Regions from separate parts of the Homo sapiens genome. Here region 2 is linked to region 1. Evidence: promoter capture Hi-C in 16 types of primary human blood cells and fetal thymus (Javierre and others, 2016). All regions are on one chromosome and are shown on one strand. Each heading gives the region's core, a stretch centred on a gene start or on the middle of the fragment in contact. The rest is flanking DNA. Distances are from core to core; before and after follow the strand shown. Region 1 holds the start of ADRM1 (ADRM1 26S proteasome ubiquitin receptor). Region 2 overlaps LSM14B (LSM family member 14B).

What was found. The method cuts DNA at HindIII sites, captures the fragments that hold promoters and counts their contacts. A CHiCAGO score of 5 or more calls a contact.
Region 2: a fragment that was not itself captured here is called in contact with the fragment with the promoter of ADRM1 in region 1 in 1 of 17 cell types (neutrophils); the score reaches 5.8 in neutrophils.

Annotation. Positions count from the first base shown.
Region 1 is chr20:62,298,615-62,306,334 of GRCh38, forward strand. It overlaps ADRM1 (ADRM1 26S proteasome ubiquitin receptor), which reads left to right and starts at 4,383. Exons shown (of 10, transcript NM_007002.4): 1 at 4,383-4,435; 2 at 4,954-5,167; 3 at 5,847-5,963; 4 at 7,583-7,706. The coding sequence starts at 4,955. RefSeq lists silencers at 3,893-4,012, 4,033-4,492 and an enhancer at 7,172-7,675. The HindIII fragment of the contact is 19,122 bases long and covers 1-7,720 here.
Region 2 is chr20:62,126,501-62,133,974 of GRCh38, forward strand. It overlaps LSM14B (LSM family member 14B), which reads left to right. Exons shown (of 9, transcript NM_144703.3): 4 at 3,285-3,452; 5 at 3,719-3,796; 6 at 4,030-4,191; 7 at 4,856-5,006; 8 at 6,790-6,975. The coding sequence ends at 6,961. Among named protein-coding and RNA genes, the nearest start is that of LSM14B, 7.8 kb to the left of the region's middle. RefSeq lists an enhancer at 7,343-7,474. The HindIII fragment of the contact is 6,993 bases long and covers 1,005-7,474 here.

The sequences.
Region 1 (7,720 bases), core at 3,133-5,632:
AACTGCCCTGTGGAGAGGGGGCTGGGGGACACTCGTGACACCTGTCGGGCGGCACATGTGATGGGTGGAGCACCCAGGTTCTCCAAGCAGCAGGAGGCTCTGATGGACCCCCCTCCCCTGGCGGGGGGACGCTACTGCTAGAAGCAGCGAAGGGCCCGGTGCCCCAGGTTTCAGCTGCCTGCCTTCTGCCGTAAGTTGCCCCAGCACCTTCGTGCTTTTCAGGAGCGTAAGCTGAGCAGACTCAGTCGTCCCAGTGGTCAGTGTGGCTGGGGCAGAGGGACACACGGTCCACAAGACGTCCATGCTCTCGGAATGCTCCAGGGGTTTGGCTGTGGGGCTCCACCACCATTGCCTGAGCCCGGAGCCAGAGGCTCCTCCCACACTGCCTGGTCTGCCCCACAGAGCATCAGTGCCACGCCAGGTGAGGACAGCGCTCACCAGACAACCAGGCCTGCCGCCCCACTGACGCTGACTTCCGGACCTGCAGAACTGTGAGAAAGTACGTTTCGCTTCTTTGTAAACTGCCTGGTCAGTGGTGGCAGCACAGATGGACCGACGTGGACCTCGACGCGAATGGCGGGCTCTGGGCGCTGACCCGGTGGCGGCGTAGCTCACCGAACACCCAGGGGGACCAGAACTCTCTGCCTTCCACTCAGTTGTGACTTGTCTATTTTTAAAATGTTAAAAAAAAAAAAAACCCACAAGGTGCAGTGGCTCACACCTGTAATCCCAGCCTTTGGGAGGTTGAGGCGGGTGGATCGCTCAAGCTCAGGAGTTCGAGACCAACCTGGCCCACATGGTGAAACCCTGTCTCTAATAAAAATACAAAAATTAACCGGGTCTGGTGACACATGCCTGTAATCCCAGCTACTCAGGAGGCTGAGGTAGGAGAACTGCTTGAACTCAGGAGGCGGGGGCTGCAATGAGCTGAGATCAAGCCACTGCACTCCAGCCTATGGGATAGAGTGAGATTCCATCTCAAAAAAAAAAAAAAAAAAAAAAAAGTTTAAAAAACCCTACCCCTGCCAAATGCTTTTCCGAAGTAGCCGTGCCATTGGTGTTTCCAACTTTGCCTGGCACCTTCCATCGTTTGCTAAGTTCCAGCAGGTGTATTTCATTTGCATTTCCCTCATGAATAATGGTGTTGAGCAGCTTGCCATGGTGCCTTTGCTGCCTGTGACCTCTTTGGTGAAACATCCGGAGGTGTCTTCTGCCCACGTGGAGGCGCAGCCTGGGCTCTGCCGCCCACCTTTCACCCGAGGAGCCTGCAGCACGTGGAGAGCATCAGGGTGTGCTTTCTTTACAGTTTGGGGCTTTTTTGAGACAGGGTCTCGCTCTGTCACCCAGGCTGCAGTGCAGTGGTGCCATCACGGCTCACCGCCAGCCTTGACCTTCACCTCAGCCTCCCAAGTAGCTGAGACTACAGGCATGCACCGCCATGGCTGGCTCTTTTTTAATTTGTCTTTTTCTAAAGACAGGGTCTCACTGTCTTGATTAAGCTGGTCTTGGAACTCCTGGGCTTCAAGGGACCCTCTCAGCTCGGCCTCCCAAAGTGCTGGGATTGCAGGTGTGAGCCATCATGCAAGTCTGGGGTTGTTTTTTTTTTGCTAAACAGGATGAATAGAAATCTCTTTTGGGGGATCTCTTAGTCCAAATCCTTTAGCTGAATGCGCGTGTCCCGGTGAGGCTGCTCCTCTAGATGCTGCGGGCATTTTGCAGACGTCCCACCAACTGCCATCAGCGACCAATTAGAAGATAGGGACAGCTGCACATGTCACACAGCCCTTCTGACCTTGTGTGTGCTTCAAGTCCGAGATTCCTGACACAAAGCAGCGTGTGCCCCCCCACCCACTCTGTGGCCACAGCTGGAGTCCTGGGCTGCTGGGTGCTCCAGGTGCCATACCCCACACACGCATAGAGCCCGTGGGCTGGCAGCGGGCACCCACAGTGGCCTCTGCAAAGCCTGCCTGGCTGCGGCTCGTTTCCTCACTGCAGCATGCTCATAGGAATGTGGGAGTTTCGCTTGAAGTGTGGGTAAAGAGTTCTGGGGTTGTTTGAGCCATCCCAGGCCACAGGGCCTCCAGGAAGTGGAGGAAATGGTAAATCCAGGGTCCTCTTGGCCACTGCGTTGGCCTCTGCACACTTGGCCCCTGCGGACCCTGGGGCTTCTGCTTTACTGTCTGTGACATAAACAAGTGACGCTTGCCACCTTCTTGCCGGGAAAGCCAGGCTGGGTTTTCTCATTTCCACCTTTTCCCTGTTTTACACGAGGGCACGAGGATGGGGCTGCAGTATCAGTGACGCACCTGTCACCAGCGGGCCACAGAGCTTTGTGTTAGCCCCTCTCAAGCCCTTTAGCTTCTGGAACCGTTTAAATTCTTAAAAATTATACAGGACCCCAAAGAGCTTTTGTTTATGTGAGCTTTATCTATTGACATTTACCATACTAGGAATTAAGAGGACATTTAAAATTATTTAGCTACATAAAAATAACAATAACAAACTTACTACCTGTTAACACACATTTTAAAATGAAAAGTGGCTACATTTTCCAAAACAAAAAACGTGAATCTTTAGCTCAATCAATGTTTCAAATGGAAGCATTATGACAGTCAAAAGCTGGCAACTAAACATAACTGGCACAAGCTCTGCCACCGAGACAATGGAGGCCTGAGTAGTAGGCTCCCTGCAGAATGAAAGGACTGGAGCTGCCAGCATCAACACCAACGCATCTCCCAACAAGGGTGAGTGAAAACACACACCTAAAGACCTCAGAGAGCACGTAAGCACACAGCTGTGCATCCACTCTGAGGGTGAGCCACCAAGCACACGGTGACCCCGGGGAGCGCCCGAAGGGAGTGAAGTATCTGAAGGAAAGAAGGAAGTGAGCGATGGGCAAAGGAGAACCTGAGGACCCTGGCACAGTCTCAGCTGCAAACATCTAGTCTTGCTTAACTGGGGTGCAGAGGCCACTGCACCTCAGGGTTCTCACGAAGCGCCTGACCTCTCTATTTTATTACTATTATTATTATTATTTTTTTTTTTTGAGAAGGAGTCTTCCTCTGTCGCCCAGGCTGGAGTGCAGTGGTGCAATCTCGGCTCACTGCAACCTCCACCTCCCGGGTTCAGGCGATTCTCGTGCATCAGCCTCCTGAGTAGATGGAATTACAGGCATGTGCCAGCATACCTGGCTAATTTTTGCATTTTTAGTAGAGTCGGGGTTTCATTCACCATGTTGCCCAGGCTGGTCTTGAACTCCTGGCCTCAAGTAATCCGCCCGCCTCGGCCTCCCAAAGTTCTGGGTTTACAGGCGTGAGCCACCGCGCCTGAGCCCTCTAAGAGCCCCCGCCTGGCGTCGCTGTAGGCAAATCCCAAAGAACGTGTCCCTTCAGCAGCCGGCTGGGGCGCCACAAACACTATCTGTTGTCTTCGCTTTAGTTTGTGTCAAAGTGACTCAAAGTTACACAACACTGGCGGGCGACTGCCGCCTTTTTACCCTGTGGCCTTTCCCATCCAGGCGTCCAGAGGGTGAGCCCCTGCCCTCCAGGACCCCTCCCTTCCAGGACCCTACCCGTCTGGGACTCAGGCCTTCCCTGACTCCTCCCTCCCGGACTCACCCCTCCCAGATCCCTCCCCTCCGGGACCCTCTCCCCTCCCGGGCCCCCTCCCCTCCGGGAACCCCTCCCCTCCCGGACTCACCCCTCCCAGATCCCTCCCCTCCAGGAGCCCCTCCCCTCTCGGGACCCCTCTCCTCCCGGACCCACCCCTTCCTGACCCCTGCCCTCCCGGACCCCTGCGGGACTAGATGTATACAGCTGAGACCATATCACGGTTCTCACCCTCGCTCTACCCTCCCGGACCCCTGCTCTCCCGGACGCGTGGACTCCAGCTCCCGCCTGGGTCCCCAAAGCGCTGAACCCATGGTCACTTCTATGCGTAGCCCTGGTGCCCGCCGCCCACAGCCGGACCGCACTCCTCGGCCTCCGCCTAACCCCTGGCTCAGCCACACGAGTGACAGCTCTGCCCGCCCGGGCGGGCGACGCCGAGGGGTGGGCTCGGCCCCACCTGAGCAGTTCCCCAGCGCCCCTCTGAAACCCGCCTGTGGTCCCTGGCGCCGCCTCTAGGGGCCGCCGCCGCTCCCCTATGACACAGCAACAATAGGGGCCGCTCTGGTCCAAGCGCCCTGCGGCCCGCGCTTCCGCCGGAAAAGAGCCGCCGGCGCGGGGGCGGACCGGGGAGGAGCGAGTGCGATGGACGGTCGCCCTCGCCAATCGTTGGCAGGTTAGAGCCGGCTGCGCGGCTTACGGGGCTCAATCGGCGGCGAGAGCGGCAGGCGGGGCGGGCCGAACGCGGGTTTCCGGCGGGGCCCGGCAGGCGCCGAGGAGGAAGAGCGAGCCCGGACGGCGCCTCTCGAACGAGTGTGGGCGCGAGGCAGGTGCGGGAGTCGCCGGGCCTGGGGCGGCCGGGGGCGACCGGAGGCGGGGGCAGGGGCTGCTGGACCAAGGATGGGGCGGGGGCAGCCAAGACGAGAAGGTGGCCGGCGCGGCGGGTGGGGCCTGCGGGGGCCGGGCCGGGCGGGGGTTCTGGGGTCTCGGGCGCCGCCCCGGTTCCGCCTGCGGCTCTGAACGTGGGGCTCGGCGGGAGCTCGGGCGGGTCTGCCCCGCGGAGCGGGTCGCCGGGGTGGCGCGTCGAGGCTGGTGCCCCGCGGAGACGGCGTCAAGCCTAGGGCCGGCCCCACTAGGCTTGGCGGGGCTGCCCCGGCCCAGCGCCGAGTGCGGGCGGTGCGATCGTCGTGAGCGGGGCAAACGCGGAAAGGCAGCCCGGCGTGTCTGAGTCTGCCTTAGGCAGCTCTGGGCGCAGGCCCCCTGCTCGCAAACACCCCAGGGGGCGGGAGCTTGCCGGACCGCAGGCGACAGTGACCGCCGCGTCTCAGCGTCCTCTCCGCGCTTTCAGGATGACGACCTCAGGCGCGCTCTTTCCAAGCCTGGTGCCAGGCTCTCGGGGCGCCTCCAACAAGTACTTGGTGGAGTTTCGGGCGGGAAAGATGTCCCTGAAGGGGACCACCGTGACTCCGGATAAGCGGAAAGGGCTGGTGTACATTCAGCAGACGGACGACTCGCTTATTCACTTCTGCTGGAAGGACAGGACGTCCGGGAACGTGGAAGACGTGAGTGTCCCTGAGCCGCAGCAGCAGGACAGGCGACTTCTCGGGCCCTCGGAGTCCTCGCTTTGGAGTTCGCGGTGGGGGCTTGGCCGCATCTGGGGACCGCTCGTGGGGCCGTCATCGACTGCCCTGCTGATGGGTCGTCCTGGTTTCCGCGGTGACAGGGGCATCTCGGCCACTGTGTATCTTGAACTGTCCGTGTGAGGTGCCTGGGTTGGAGGTGTGGCCCTGGAGAGCCCGGAGCTCTGTGCCTGGCCTTGAACTGTCCGTGTGAGGTGCCTGGGGTTGGAGGTGTGGCCCTGGAGAGCCTGGAGCTCTGTGCCTGGCGGCTTCACTCAGTCTTCTTTGTTTTTCAAACTCTTAGTTGTTCTTTGTTACATTTGAGAGCAGTTCAGCGTTGACTTTTTAACTACTCTGGGAATGTTGTTTCCAGCACGTCTCAGAAACCCCGTTGCCATCTGAAAGGCCCCTTTCCCTGCTCTCTCCCCCGGCCTTGCCTTTCATGGGCTGTCTCTGACCCTGGCTTCTCTGCCTTGTGGAGACCCTGCCAGCGAGGGGTCTGGCGGCTTAGCTGCCCCTTGCGCACCCCACCCGGTTAGACCCAGGGCTCAGTACGCTCTCCTGAGACTGGGCACAGTGATGCCATCTGCGCCACTGACTCTCTCTTCCCCTGGCTTGCCAGGACTTGATCATCTTCCCTGACGACTGTGAGTTCAAGCGGGTGCCGCAGTGCCCCAGCGGGAGGGTCTACGTGCTGAAGTTCAAGGCAGGGTCCAAGCGGCTTTTCTTCTGGATGCAGGTATGGGGCAGGCCTTGGGGTTGTGCCTTTTTGTTGCCCTGCGATTCGGTTAGGAACTTGCTTACAGTGTGGTGCAATTGGCTTTTATAAACCAGCAGGCGCCGGCCACACCCGGCCACACGGCCTGAGATGCCACCTCAGGGCTGCGGTGCATGCTACCTGGGGCCGAGGTCCTCTCCCAGAGTACGGAGGCTCCAGGCTGGGCTGCGGGCAACCGATTGCGGTGTGAAATTTCCAGGCAGACAGACATGCTGGCCCTGGTTCTAACGATGCCCAGTGCCCTCTCTCTGCCCCTTGCCGTGGGTCACTGAGGCCCCCACAGCAGAGGCAGAGGCCCCTGTGTGGCTTCCCTGCTGGTGCTCACAGAAACGAAGCATCCTGCTCACACTTTCCACAGTCCTGCCCCTTCCCTGGCAGTGTGTCCTGGAGGCCAGGGGTGTCAGTGCCCAGGGTTTCTCTTACCCACAGCTGCAGAGCGTCTTTTGGGTCTAGAGGCCGCTGCTCATTCTGCCATCTGTCAGTGACCATTGAGCTTGTTGCCGTTTTTTGTGCTGTTACAGGCAGTGTTGCAAAGAATTTCCCGGTACACAGATCATTTTCCATAAGCCAGTATCATCTGTAGGTGAAAACTGGTGGCGGGCCTGTGGTCAGGAAGCGTGTGCATGCGTTTGCAGTGTGGAGAGAGAAGGCCATGCTCTCTGCCAGAGGTGGAGCTGCTGTCCCCACCCCACCCCCCTTGGCACTTTCAAGAGCAGGGGTGGCCCTGGCTGAGGTCTCTGTGGAGCACATGGTCTGTGTTGCTGGTCACCTGTGCAAGTAGTGTGCAGCGGCCTGAGAAAATGAACAGGCATAGCCAAACTCCAGTTAAACTTTATTTGCAAACACAGATGGCGGCCACAATTTGCCACCTGCTGGTGTAGAACGTGTTTTTCCACGGTTTTGCCAAGAAATAGTGTCCAACTGTTACCACCATCTCCCTTTTTTCCCCGATTTTCCTGTTGGTGGCTTTTAAGTCCCCCGTCCCTGCTTTGCCATGAGAGCAGGGACTCCCAGTGTCCCTGGCGCCCTGCAGCTTCCATAGCCATTCGGGGTGTGCGTGGGTGCTCTGCTCCCAGCTCTGTGAGCTCGCAGGTCGATGCTTCTGACACTGATCTGTGCACATGTGTGTGCACACGCGTGTGCTCGATTGTGAGCGCCTGCCGTGGCCCTGGGCCGCGGTGTGCTGAGCGGGCCAGTTCGCTGCCTTCCACTGGTTGAAGGAAGGAGACGGGTGTGTAAAGAACCGCACCCCAGAGGGCAGGAGGGTGAGAGGGCTTGGTCTGGCAGCAGCTAAGTGCCTTCGGAGCTCTAGGCTCCCCATTTGTGAAATGGGCGGAGGGGGACAGGGCACACCCGGGATTGCGGCGGATGGGGACAGGGCGCAGAGCATCGTGCTCAGGAGGCGCCACTGCCGTCCCCTCACCTGCTGGGCCGGGTCCTGTCTCCTCAGCATTGTGTGGCCAGGCACACGCGCCTCTGCGTCTCAGGTCCCTCACCTGGAAGCCAGGTCAGAGGATGGCTGTGGTGGCCCTGGGTGAGCTGGCGCCAGCTCCTGCCCTTACATGCCCTTCCTCTTGCAGGAACCCAAGACAGACCAGGATGAGGAGCATTGCCGGAAAGTCAACGAGTATCTGAACAACCCCCCGATGCCTGGGGCGCTGGGGGCCAGCGGAAGCAGCGGCCACGAACTCTCTGCGCTAGGCGGTAACTGTCACATG
Region 2 (7,474 bases), core at 3,251-5,750, 170 kb before region 1:
ATGGAGCCTGAGGGTGGGGATATGCATTCCTGTCATGCTCAGCTTGTAGACTGTTTTGTTGCACACTTAGTAAATTACCCAGTGCAACTTCCGCTTGTGAGAGCATTTAGTAACTACTCAACTGAAAGTAAAAGAGGCAGCAGCCTGAGTGTTGGAACAGAAGAATCAAATCAAAATTCATTCGAAGAGTCAGGGCGGATCTAGGTGGAAGTCCTGGGCCAGGCATAGTGGCTCACTCCTGTAATCCCAGCACTTTAGGAGGCCAAGGCGGGTGGATCACAAGGTCAGGAGTTCGAGACCAGCCTGGCCAACATGGGGAAATCCTGTCTCTACTAGAAATACAAAAATTAGCTGGGTGTGGTGGGACACACCTGTAATCCCAGCTACTTGGGGGGTTGAGGCATGAGAATTGCTTAAACCTGGGAGGCAGAGGTTGCAGTGAACTGAGATTGCACCACTGCACTCTAGCCTGAGCGGCACAGTGAGACTCTGTCTCAAAAAATAAATAGGTGGAAGTCCTGGTATATCTGCTTCAAAGAAGAAATAGCTGATATATATGTAGTATTACAGATGAAGTCTAGCTGTTTGCACATTTATAAGCCTGTAAATATAGACGTGAAATACAAACCCACCCATCATGTCCCTTATTCTACTGTAAGTGCCTCGCTCAAAAATGGTTTCAACCAAGATTGAAAAACCCCAGAGTATGATTCTATTCTCCATATGTAGAGAAAGATCCTGCCTTGTCCTTAACCTGGACCTAGCTTTGCAGATGGGCTCAGAGTGTAGAATTGGCAGGTGATCCACGACCCTTGCTCAGAATCCAGCATGAAGTAGTGAGACAGGGAACCCTAAACGAGGTCTGTAGGCCACTTGCTGCTACAAATCATGCTTGCTTGGTTGCTATTCCTAGTGTGACAGGCGGCCTTCCCAGCCCAGCTCTCTGGGTTTCTAAAACGTGTTTGTATGACAGAATCCTACAAGAGGTTGCTTGGCTCTTTCCAAGCTTGCTAGACACAAGACAAGTGTATCCTGACTTATTTGTGTGCTTTCTTTTTGCTCTTTCTCCTTTATCTTCCTTTAGAGAAGTTGGTAAGCCCTCCAGCCTCAGCCGCTGCTTCCAGCCCTAGCTCTTCTCCATCTCCACAGCCCGTTTCAGAGCTTGACTTGTCCTCAGAGCCACAGCAGCTCACTGCCAAGGGTAACAGCAGTTTGGGAGAACTGCATGCTGTCTTGCAAACCATTCTGAGAGCGAGGGGTAAAGCAGCAGACAGAATGACAGTAGCTGTAGCAGATCATTTGCCAAGCCCATGCAGCCGCTGAGCTGCTTGTTTTGCTTCAGCATGTAGTCCTGATTGATGAACTCTCAGTGTTAAAGAAGGGATTACGAAGAATCAGCGGAGTAGTTTGTTCTCTCTCCCTGGGTCCAGGTTCTCTGTTGACCTGTACCATGACTACCACATACGGGAAACTTCACTGTTCACAGAAAGTCATTTCCCTGGGGTTTTTGCTGGGTCCTAAATGTGTTCCAGAGTGCTGCAGGGGGGACTCCCCAAAGCACCTGACATGCCTGTTTTGCTCTTTGATCCGTGTGGTTCATAGATCACTCATTGAGGGGATTCAAAATTAGGGGCTTGGGTGACAGTCGCCAACTGTTTGGCCAGGTGGACAGTATCAGCCTGATGGCCAGCTGGCCAGTGTACACCACCTGTCTCTGTGCTGTGGTGGTGGCGGCACCTGTGGGGTTTCTAGATCTTTTCTCACGTTCTACTCATTTCCCCTGAAGTTCTAAAATTCATATTGACGATCTTGCTGTATGTTTGTGTTACACATAGCACCCTGACAAGCTGAACCATCGCCATTACCCGGCCCTGGTCCAGGTTGATGCCTGGGCTTTCCTTATGGCACACAGCTGCTGTCAGTCTGTCATTCTGCAGGTGCTGCTTTCCAAATCCTGCATGCACTCTGTGTATCTGAGTTACAGAGTAGTCTTTTTTTTTCCCCCACTTAAAAATGACACAGATACTTCTATTGCTCTTAGGATCAGTTACCTAAACCTGCTCATAGGGCAAGACTTTGTTTGAACTAGTTGGTTGTGTAAAAAGCAGACAAGCCCCTTATCCATGCCCCTGCAGTCACAGTATGATCAGCAGGCAGGCAGTGCTGTGTTTGTCTCCCGGACATGCTGAGTGAGACAATCAGTGAGAAAGTGGCCCGGGTGCATTCCCGCCAGAGGACACTTTCCAGACCTCTATGCAGAGTCGTTCCAACCTGCCCTTTGAGAGCTTCTCTTGATCTGGTTACAAGGAATTTTTCTACAGTCAATTTTTTTTTTCATTTCTATTCCGTAAAAGCAGTAAGATGAGATGCCCAGTCTTCATGTGTATTGGGCTGTTCGTCTAATAATAATTACCCTGTGGTTAGGGTGCCTTTTCTGTTTCAGATCTCTGTTCACTTACACCCAGTCCCACATTGTCCTGTTTAGAGTCCCTACAGGTCCTGGAACCTTGGAAAGGGAGGAGATGGAGAGAGGTGGGTGGTGCTTCCCATTTTCCTCCTGATTCAGAGGGCCTGGTTTCTGAGGGTTCATCCCCTGTGCGTGGGCCTCGGACTGCAGTTTCATAGGCATAGCCCCTTGCCAAAGGCTACCTAGGAGCCCTTTGTGTCTTCATGATGAGCCTTTGCCCTTGAGAGAAGTGTAGGCTGCTACGTCTCGGAAGTCAGCTCCTGCTTCATCATTTTTAGTTTTATTGTGCCTTAAGTGGAAATGACAGTGTTGTAGAATTTAACTTCAGAATTTGTTCACTGCATTTTCTAGAAAATCCCAGGCTGGGCTGGTTCTTCTCCAGTGTGGACCAGAATGAAACAAATTCTCAGATCCTGAATTCATCAGGATCTTGGGGCTGCTGAGCTCCTTTGGGATTGGAGCTTGTGTGGTTTTAAGAAAGCTGTTTCCACACTTCTGGGGAGGTGCCTGTTTGTAGGCACGGTGTTTTTCCTGTCCTTGAGGTTCCCTAACTTGGGAAGCTCAGGGCTTTGGGAGTGGGGAGTCCAAAGATGAACTGGCCTTGGTGCTGCCCAGTGACTCTTGGCCTTCTTTTGCTGCCTGGGCTAGCCTCAGAGGGAATGGCCCAGTCTGGGGGTGCTTTGCCTGGATTTGATAGAACATCTAGGCAGTTGCCCTCCTTTCCTTCCTGACATGCCAGCAGAAGAGAAATGCCTGGAGATATAAGGCTTGCTTCTTTTCTCTCTGTTTTTAAACCCTCCTCCCCTCCTCAATTCAGGAGCTGGTTTTCCATCCATCCCAGTCGGCAAGAGCCCCATGGTGGAGCAGGCTGTGCAGACTGGTTCTGCTGACAACCTGAATGCTAAAAAGCTGTTACCTGGCAAGGGCACCACAGGGACGCAGCTCAACGGTCGTCAGGCCCAGCCGAGCAGCAAGACGGCCAGCGGTACTTGAACACATCATTTCCTGGAGTTTGCTTGATGTTCTAAAAGTGGCACACTACTTCCTGGGCTATTTTTTTTTTTTTAATTAAAAAAATACTACTCCCCCATCCTAAGCCCCATGTGCTTTTGCAGGGCAGGCCTGTGCAGCAGCCTCCTGCGGTGCCGCCCTGGCCGCGTGCCCCATGGTGGTGGGGCCTGCTTCCACAGCTGGGTTCTGGCTTCCGGCTGCTATAGGAGCTTTGCCTTACTCTTCCCTTTTGCGCCGTAGATGTAGTCCAGCCGGCAGCTGTGCAAGCTCAAGGGCAGGTGAATGACGAGAACAGAAGACCTCAGAGGAGGCGATCAGGTAACACCTGTTGCCACTTGATTTCTGGGGACCACGAGTGATCAGGCTGAGCTCTGCTTGCCCTCCTGCCTGCTTCTCTGGTTGACGGTTTCAGGGGTGCTGGTGTGAAGTCGCTGCTTGTGTGCTCTGTTCCTTCTGTGGCCTTGGGGGTGTGCCTGGAAATTCCTTGTGAGGTGTTTGAGATCACTGGGTTGGTGACCTACTTCAGCCAGGGCTGTCCTTTGTCCTCACAGGAAACAGGCGAACAAGGAATCGCTCCAGAGGGCAAAACCGTCCAACTAACGTTAAGGAAAACACAATCAAATTTGAGGGTGACTTTGATTTCGAGAGTGCAAATGCCCAGTTCAACCGAGAGGAGCTTGACAAAGAATTTAAGAAGAAACTGAATTTTAAAGGTTTGGCTCATTATATGAAAATTATTCTCTGCACAGGAGTACCCCTAGAGAGTGTTAGGAGGAGATGCCTGGCCGGGTGTGGTGGTTCACGCCTGTAATCTCAGCACTTTGGGAGGCTGAGGTGGGTGGATCACCTGAGGTCAGGAGTTCAACACCAGCCTGGCCAACACAATGAAACCCCATCTGTACTAAAAATCCAAAAATTAGCCAGGCGTGGTGGTGGGCGCCTGTAATCCCAGCTACTCGGGAGACTGAGACAGGAGAATCGTTTGAACCCAGGAGGTGGAGGTTGCAGTGGGAGTGAGCCAAGATTGCGCCACTGCACTCCAGCCGGGCGATAGAGCAAGACTCTGTCTCAAGGAAAAGGAAGAGATGCCTAGAGGAACCGGGGATGCCAGGCGGATGGTGACCGGCAGTGAGGAATTAATGAAGTGAGGTGCTGGGAGGTGTGAAAATGGGTGGGATAAGGTGCAGACTGCACAGCCCAGACGGCAGAACGAGACCTGTACTTAGAAGGTAGAAGAAGAGATTTCTGCTTTGCACAAGGCATAGTTGATGTCTTAGCTTGAGGGTGGCTTCCGAGTGAGCCCGGAGGGACCACCCTGCTAAAAGGCTGTGCGCTCTGCCCCTCCTCCATCTCCACGTGTTCTGCTTCTTTTTGTAGATGACAAGGCTGAGAAGGGGGAAGAGAAGGACCTGGCTGTGGTGACCCAGAGTGCCGAAGCGCCCGCTGAGGAAGACCTTCTGGGGCCCAACTGCTACTATGACAAATCCAAGTCGTTCTTCGACAACATCTCTTCTGAACTCAAGACCAGGTGAGAGGCTGAATGAATGAGGGGAGGACAGTCCTCCAATCTAGAAAGGACAGGGCTGAGGGCTCTCAACCTGAGGGCAGAGCTGGACTCTGAGGCTCAGGGTAGCTGTTCTAGGGTCCTGCTTGCGTTTCTGCATGATGGGTGCCGGAGTCCCAGCAGGTTGCGTGTGGGAAGCCTCTTGGGGATCCCGACCCGAGGAGTTGGCTGAGGTCGAGCCTGTTTCCTCTTGGCTTTGCTGCCCTGTCCCCACAAAGGCTGGGCTGCACCGCCCCCCCCGGCAGACCCGTGTCCACATTCAGCATACCTCACGGTGCTCTGCTTGCTGGTCCCGCTGGCCTGGCAGCCTGAGGTCCTTGCTTAGCAGCCTGAGGTATGGCTAGAACGTGCTCACACTGGCTTTCCTTCACTTCATTGTTTGAGGCCAGGGACCATGTGGTGTGTTTTATTTTTCACACCTAACAGCTGGTCAGAAGTCCCGCGAAGCACCCTAGGGAGTGGGTGGCATCTACAGTGTGGGCCTGGCTTGGAAACTTGGGCCCATTTGTCCTGCAGATTGAGCGCCAGACATGCCGCGGGGCGTTGAGGGGGCCTCAGAAGGCAGGCTGGAGAGCGCCACCTCTTCAGGTTCATGTTCTGCCAGGGGAAAAATAGAACAGCATGTCGTGAAGGCCAGGCAGTGAGGGCGATGGGATGGGGCTGTAACTCGATGGGAAGTGGATGATCAGTTCTCACAGGCAGAGCAGGCTGCGCAGATGAGTGCGGGAAGTGCTTCCAGACAGGCCGAGTCTGGGGGATGGGTTCCTGTAGGGTTTTGTAGGGCATGGCAGTGACTTTGGCTTTTGTTCCAAGTGCCGCGGGAAGCCATCAGAGGGTTTTGTGCTGAAGCGTGGTGCGGTCTGATGTTTTACGGCGTCCTTGGTGAGAGTGGTTGGACGGTGGGCAAGTGTGGCTGCTGACTGGCCAGTTAGGGGCCAGTGCTGCAGCACAGGTGGCTTGGAACCAGGCAGTGGTGGTGACAGAGGGAAGGAGTAGAGTCTAAATGTGTCTTGAAGGTGGCGCTAACAGAATTGGCCAACATGACAAGAGAAGAGTCCAGAATGACTCCTAAGTCTTTTGGCCTGGGCGGCTGATGGGTGGAGTTGCTGTTTCTTTGAACACGGAAGTCTGTGGGAGCAGCAGGTTTCCGGCTGAAGAGGAGCTCAGGGTGGGTGTGCTGCTGGAGCTGTTGTCTGCGTCGGTAGGAGTGCTGGGTGGGAGTGCTGGGTGCACAGTTGGATGTGGGAGATAGTCTCCCACCAGCAGCTTGTTTGGGTGGCATGAGTGTCCATGCTGTATCCCTGTCTTTCAAACTCCCAAAGCAGAAGCATCACATTCCAGGGAACTTGTTCCATCTATCCTAGCCTCCTCCTTGTCTAGGAGGGTCCACTTCATGGTCCGGTCTCAGGTCTCCTGGGCCCCTGGGCCTCCCCAGGGCTCCTCTCTGTGCCCAGCGAGCAACAGCGGCTGCCTTGGTAGCCAACTAGTATCACTGCTTGCCTGTGGTGCCAGAGATGGTAGAGATGGATCCCGATCCCCGGCCCACTGTGGAGACAGTCCTGGTTGGAAACGTGGCAGGGAGCACCTGCAGTGCCGGAGCTGGGCTCCAGAGCTGACGGGGCCGCCCCTTCCCTGTAGTGGCCCTGGTGAGTCTGTCCCTCCTTCCCTGGGCCGCTCTGAGGACGAGGCCTGGCCAGAAGCCTGGGAGTCAGTGCCTGCTACAATCAGCATTTCCTCTGTGGTTTAGCTCCAGGCGGACGACGTGGGCCGAAGAGAGGAAGCTCAACACAGAGACCTTTGGGGTGTCAGGGAGGTTTCTTCGTGGCCGCAGTTCTCGGGGCGGATTCCGAGGAGGCAGGGGCAATGGGACCACCCGTCGCAACCCCACTTCCCACAGGGCCGGGACTGGCAGGGTGTGAGGGTGCAGCCAAAGGTGAGTGGATGAACCTTCTGGACGCTTTGGTGGGAGGGTGTAGGGTCAGGCACACCTGGAGAGCTTAGGAAGGTGGGGAGCAGGCTCGGTTTCCCAGGAAGAAGAGAGGCCCAGAGGTGTCAAAGCCAAACCGAGGGCCTCGACCCTATGAGTCACCCGGGAGGCTCTTGGCCAACTTCAACCTGCATCTGTGGGGGTAGGATCCAGGCCCCAGCATCCTCCAAGTGAGATTGCAGGTATGGGAGGTGAGGTGGTGCGGGAGTCGCGTGGGCTGGGGGCTCACCACCCAGGTGAAGCCAGCAAGTGAGACCTTGCTCCAAAGCCAGTGTCTTGGCCCAACCCGGCCCTAAGTGAATCAGAGGCTTCATTTTTAACCAGGTCCCAGTGGATTTGTGGGCACCTTAGGGTTTGGGCGGAGCGTCCCACATGGGGTGCCTGGTGCCAACCCCACCCAGCGCCTCGGGACAGCCAGGTGGGCCCTGGAAAGACTAGCCCTCCT